Regions from separate parts of the Homo sapiens genome. Here region 2 is linked to region 1. Evidence: promoter capture Hi-C in human tissues and cell types (Jung and others, 2019). All regions are on one chromosome and are shown on one strand. Each heading gives the region's core, a stretch centred on a gene start or on the middle of the fragment in contact. The rest is flanking DNA. Distances are from core to core; before and after follow the strand shown. Region 1 holds the start of OR2B2 (olfactory receptor family 2 subfamily B member 2). Region 2 has its middle 5.2 kb from the start of OR2B6.

Region 1 (3,509 bases), core at 325-2,824:
CATGGGAATCATCCTTCTGTTTAGAGCAGGGGTGTCCAATCTTTTGGCTTCCCTGGGCCACATTGGAAGAAGAAGAATTGTCTTGGGTCTCACATAAAATACAGCAACACTAACAATAGCTGATGAGTTTTTTTTTAATCATCAGTGAATGTCATGATGTTTTAAGAAAGTTTACAAATTTGTGTTAGGCCACGTTCAAAGCCATCCTGGGCTGCGTTCAAAGCCATCCTGGGCTGCATGCAGCCCGTGGGCCTCAGGTTGGACAAGCTTGATTTAAAGCATCCACCTGCCTGTTAGTCACTGAGTAGCCATCTCGGTTATCAGATCGTCAGAACACAGAGGGGTGAGTACACTAGAATAAGGTGTTTTGAAGAGAAAAAAAGAGAGGGACACCACATTCACATAACATGTATTACAATAAATGGGGGTCTGGAGCTGTTATACTTGCTGCATTTTATTAATTATTGTTCTTAATCTCTTACTGTGCCTAATTTATAAATTAAACGTTATAGTTGTGTATGTATTAAAAAACATAGTATATATAGGGTTTGGTACTACCCACAGTTTCAGGTTTCTATCCACTGGTGGTCTTGGAATGTATCCCCCATGGATAAAGGGGGAACCACTGTATCATCTTCATTTTACAAATGAGAATTGTGGAGATCAAAGGGTTAGAAGCATTCCAATATAATGAATGTAACTAATTAGAGAGGGTAGGGATATGAGACCAGCCTGTCACCTTCAAATATCATATTACTAAGGAATCTATACAAATTCTATGAGCTTCTAGAACGAAAAGGATATGTCTCCTTAAATTGTGTCTGATAACTTACTAGATACTGTCTACATGGCTTTTTTGAGGGAAGGGGAATAATGGGAGGTGGCTTTAACTAATGTTAACTGATTTCTACAATCAGGGAATCTCGCTGGCCTTGAAGAGAAATTAGAATGAATTCAAATGACAGGAAACTGTATCTACATCTACCTCACAGTAGATATCTAGGTAGGAAGAATGAGAAAAATACATTTACAAACAGTAAAATATCAAAGGATACATTATGTGAATTTGGAAACTGAAAATATGGCTTAAGATTTTTGAAATTAGGCTGGGCACAGTGGCTCACGCCTGTAATCCCAGCACTTTGGGAGGCTGAGGTGGGCAGATCACCTGAGGTTGGGGTTTGAGACCAACCTGACCAACGTGGAGAAACCCCATCGCTACTAAAAATACAAAATTAGTCGGGGTGGTGGCACATGCCTGTGATCCCACCTACTGGGGAGGCTGAGGCAGGAGAATTGCTTGAACCTGGGAGGCGGAGGTTGCGGTGAGCCGAGATGGCGCCATTGCACTCCAGCCTGGGCAAAAGAGTGAAACTCTGCCTCAAAAAAAAAAAAAAAAAAAAAAAAAAAGATTCTTGAAATTCGATTCAATTTGCTAATATGCTGTTACAGATATATAAACACTTTTTAAATACTTGGATGGATAAATATTTATATTTTTATCAATACTTTTTTCACATTATTAATTGGATCAGTCTGTAATTTTATGTAAATTGATAGCAAAATGATTATAGCTGACAAAATCAGGAAGTGTGTTGTTAACTTCCTGACTTCTTATATTTCAGAGAACGAAGAGTTGAACCATTTAACATGAATTGGGTAAATAAGAGTGTCCCACAGGAGTTCATTCTGTTAGTTTTCTCAGATCAACCATGGCTAGAGATTCCACCCTTTGTGATGTTTCTGTTTTCCTATATCTTGACAATCTTTGGCAATCTGACAATAATTCTTGTGTCACATGTGGATTTCAAACTCCACACCCCTATGTACTTTTTTCTTAGCAATCTCTCACTCCTGGACCTTTGCTATACCACAAGTACAGTTCCACAAATGCTGGTAAACATATGCAACACCAGGAAAGTAATCAGTTATGGTGGCTGTGTGGCCCAGCTTTTCATTTTCCTGGCCTTGGGTTCCACAGAATGTCTTCTCCTGGCCGTCATGTGCTTTGATAGGTTTGTAGCTATTTGTCGGCCTCTCCATTACTCAATTATCATGCACCAGAGGCTCTGCTTCCAGTTGGCAGCTGCATCCTGGATTAGTGGCTTTAGCAATTCAGTATTACAGTCCACCTGGACACTTAAGATGCCACTGTGTGGTCACAAAGAAGTGGATCACTTCTTCTGTGAAGTCCCTGCTCTGCTCAAGTTGTCCTGTGTTGACACAACAGCAAATGAGGCTGAACTATTCTTCATCAGTGTGCTATTCCTTCTAATACCCGTGACACTCATCCTTATATCGTATGCTTTTATTGTCCAAGCAGTGTTGAGAATCCAGTCTGCTGAAGGTCAACGAAAGGCATTTGGGACATGTGGCTCCCATCTAATTGTGGTGTCACTTTTTTATGGTACAGCTATCTCCATGTACCTGCAACCACCTTCACCCAGCTCCAAAGACCGGGGAAAGATGGTTTCTCTCTTCTGTGGAATCATTGCACCCATGCTGAATCCCCTTATATATACACTTAGGAACAAAGAGGTAAAGGAAGCCTTTAAAAGGTTGGTTGCAAAGAGTCTTCTTAATCAAGAAATAAGAAATATGCAAATGATAAGCTTTGCTAAAGACACAGTGCTTACTTACCTTACTAACTTCTCCGCAAGTTGTCCTATTTTTGTCATTACTATAGAAAACTATTGTAATCTCCCTCAAAGAAAATTTCCTTGACAAAAAGCTATATTTGTTTCTGTTGCCTAAACATTTTCATTGAACAAGCCCCCAGAATTGGCCTTCCAATGCACCAAAAACTGTAATCACAACATTTTCAAGGGTTGTCACACTTTACATCAATGTTTGTACAATTCAGTGTAAACTAGACCTTTCTGATCCAGAAATCATCTCTTCAGTAATACACACACGCACACACACATACATACATACACACACACACATAGAAACAAAGATGTAAAGGGAGCTTTTGAGAGGTTGCTTGCAAGGGTGTTAATAAAAAAAAAAGGAATTCTCAAATTATAGGCCTTTTAAAGACTTCAATTTTACATAGCTTATAATTTAATTCTCTCCAAATTGCTTTATTATTACTATTCTTAGAAAAACTATTATAGTGATCTTCAAATAAAATGTCGACAGAGAACTATATCTGTTTTCTACTGCCTAAATATATTCATTGCACAAGTCTTAAGAACTGATCTTTTATGAACTCTCAAAATAGCATAGCCTTGAAATCTTTAAGGTCTCAAACATCTTAGCACTAGTCTGTATACATCGGGAAGAGACTTAGACTTCTCTGAAACCAGAATAAAAGCCAGAAACAAAACATTTTGATACATATACACATGTCCTCATCCTTACACACACACACACACACACACACACACACACAAACTCCATGGCACAAATTATTTTTCAGACAATTGTAGATCTAACAGAAGTATCCAAAACCTTGTCTTAATTTTCTCTATAAGTTTAACAGCCCTAGCTTAAATTTTAACACT
Region 2 (3,214 bases), core at 459-2,958, 40 kb before region 1:
AGTCTGGGAATTCCCAGCATTTTTGGGAAGCTGAGGCAGATCGCTTGAGTCCAGTCCAGCCTGGGCAACATGGCAAAACCCTGTCTCTACCAAAAATACAAAATTAGCTGAGTGTGGTGGCATGCGCCTGTAGTTTCAGCTACTCAGGAGGCTGATGTGGGAGGATTGTTTGAGCCCAGGAGGTTGAGGCTGCAGTGAGACATGATCGCACCACTGCACTCCAGCCTGGGCAACAGAGACCCTGTCTCAAAACAAAACATAACAAACAAAGCAAAAACAAAATTGAGTACTGTAAAAAGCAACAGTTGAAAAGGGTTATTTGGACCTTTAGAACTTTTATCTATACATAACTCAGGATATTTCAATTTTATTGTCTGAATAAATACAATCACCACCCGTTTGCTTGTATATTAGTTGGGATTGCATCCATCAGCTACATACTGAAGTTATTCAGTATATGGCTGACAGAGGATTCTGAATGACGAGGTTCAACAAAGTCCTGAAAACTTTATTTTAAGCTGTTTACTATGCAGTGAGCATTGAGATAAGAAATATGACAACAGCTGTAGTTTAGATGCTGCTACTAAGTCACTTCACTACTGGGCAAGTTACTCAATGGCTTTGGGAAGCAGTTTAATCTATGGTAACACCAGAGTTTTCTGTTTTCCATTCGACATAAAAATTGTTTGCTTCTAAGTTTTCTATAATTATCATACCTCTGAGAATGTATAAAAAGCTTTAAATATACTACAGTGAACCCCCATGTTCCTGCTGGAGTATAAGGATAAATACTAGGAGTAATTTTTCACACAACAGTGCAATTTGGCTTAGAATAGATGAAAAGTTTGCCAATATTTTTTGTCTGTTTCACAAAAGGTTAATTATTCAGGTAGAAATCTGAATTTAGAGGTTCAGAGAGATTATTTTCATAGGCTAGATTATTTTCATAGGCAGACAGAAGGTTCAAATCTAAGACTGCTCTGCTCTCAAGTTTTAATTTCCAGTAGAGATAACAAAACATTGCAAATAGCAGTATAAAACAAATAAATGGAATTAAGAAACTGGAGCCTTAGTCAAATTTTTCTGAGTGAGATAATCATAAACGTCCATAAGTGCTCAAAACACCCAAATTTTAGCAGGTTTTATATAATAAATTTCTTAAATGTGTTCTACATACCTCTATTTTAAGCATTAGTGATAGGATGATTTGTGTGTCCAAGAAGCTTTAAATTCAAATAGGATGAACTGGAGGCATGTGGATTCAATAACCTCTTCGTAAGCTATTAATTGTAAAAACTGATATGGTGAAGTTTGTTCATTTTTCCCTTGTTTCACGCTGTAAGTGGCAAATTATAAGATATCCATTCAGGATTAATTTAGAAAATATGAGAATAGGTACAAAGCATTACAGATGATCAGACATGTTTTTCTGATATTATATTACCAAGTATGAAGGTATTTATTGATCTTTCCAGAATTCTCCTCACCAGGTTTACAAAATAAATGAGAGGGATAGGAAACTATTTTTGAATGTCGGGTGTTCTCTGGCTTACAGGGGAAGATAACAACCCTCATGTGGTTTATGGTAATTGACCATGGTATCTGATGGGAAGAGAGAAGGAGGAGATCTCTGTGATGTGATACTTCATTTTAGTTTAGATTTGCTCCCTGATACCCTTTCTCTGGGGATTGTCTCCTCAATTGTTTCTGAGACAAAAGGGAACGACAGCAGGGACTAAAATACTTTATCAAATAAAGTCTGGATTTTGTGCCATTAAACTGAGTGTTCGTTTCCTTTTTACTAATCAAGTTCTGTCAAGCCACAGAAAACTGTCCATTTACTCTGAAATCCTGAGGTCAGTATCTATGCAATAAAATAGGCTTCCAGTTAATTTGATGTAGAAATATTTTTACCTTGATTTACATAAAGTAGTTTTCTTCATTATATATCCAAATAGGCTTCTTTTCTTTCATAGATTTTGAATTTCTAGCCTTAGTTGAAAAGCTCTTCGGGTCAATGTAATTTCCTAGATTTTTTTCCAAGATTAAAAAGAGATTTATATTTTTCTATAGTTTTTCTATACAGGATTTGTTTTTATACATTCTAATATATAGTTTCCTCAGCTTTCAAGGATGAGTAGATATGAGAAAATATATTTGTGGTTATGTAAAAGGTTGGTATCTACAATATAAATAGAGTTTTTATAAAGCCCAAGAAAAACACAAATAACACAATTGAAAAAATGCTAAATAATATGACCATATACATACTGTGAACTCAGAATAGCAAATCTATATAAGATTTTAAATTCCCAAATATTCAGACAAATATATTAAAGTAGTAATGATGAGTCACTTATCAGATTGAAAAAACAATGTAACTAGCAGTAACTCCTGAATGTTGCTGAAGGAAAAAACCTCTCATAAATTATGGTTAGAAATTCAAAGTGTCACTGACATTTTAGAAATAAATAGGGCAGTTAATCTTGAAAAAAATACTCTGTTCATCAACATAGCAATGGCATTCATGGAAATCTATCCTATGGAATAAAATATACTGGTACACAAATCGTAGAAACAATAATTTTTATTGTAGCAATGTTTGTGGTGGCCAAAGTAGAGAAAAAATTAGTTTCTCAATAGGAAATTGACTAGTAATTAACCTAATCCAGAAGTATTTGCCTGTGATGTTGCTGAGTGAGAAAATGAAGATGTAAAAAAGAATAAATAACATGATCTTAATTATATAAACAATGACTAAAACACTCTCAATATAACTGTATGTATTGTGCGCCTGCATGGAATTATACGAGAGTGAAGAAGAATAAAGAACACTTGTTAGCTCCTTCATGTGGGCAATCTGGAGCACAGAGGCTGATAGCTGTGAAGGGAGAAGGAAGGGGCATCAAGTAAACCAGGGAAAAAGACTAAGATGTAATCCACAAAAAATAATGTATAGCATTTAAAACCTTCCCAAACTAATAACAGTGCTTATCTCTGAAAGTAAGAGTGAGCGTGAGGGCGGGATTAGTCAGAGGAAAATGTTTATAATGTTGGATTTTCTTTTTTCTCATAAATGCTTACAATAGATAATTTAAATAAAGGCAATAGTATTTAAAGAAAAAAAAACAGAGGGCTAAACAAATAAGAAAATAAAGACAAATCTTTAGTTTGCAGAGTGAACCAAGGTAAATAAACTAAAAAAATTCAGTAG

The links. The method cuts DNA at HindIII sites, captures the fragments that hold promoters and counts their contacts. A contact is called where the count stands out against the background at its distance.
Region 2: a fragment that was not itself captured here is called in contact with the fragment with the promoter of OR2B2 in region 1 in 1 of the 25 tissues and cell types used here (pancreas).

The regions. Positions count from the first base shown.
Region 1 is chr6:27,910,461-27,913,969 of GRCh38, reverse strand. It overlaps OR2B2 (olfactory receptor family 2 subfamily B member 2), which reads left to right and starts at 1,574. Exons shown (of 1, transcript NM_033057.2): 1 at 1,574-2,785. The coding sequence starts at 1,651. The coding sequence ends at 2,724. The HindIII fragment of the contact is 12,366 bases long and covers 1-3,509 here.
Region 2 is chr6:27,950,420-27,953,633 of GRCh38, reverse strand. No RefSeq gene overlaps it. Among named protein-coding and RNA genes, the nearest start is that of OR2B6, 5.2 kb to the left of the region's middle. The HindIII fragment of the contact is 4,792 bases long and covers 1-3,214 here.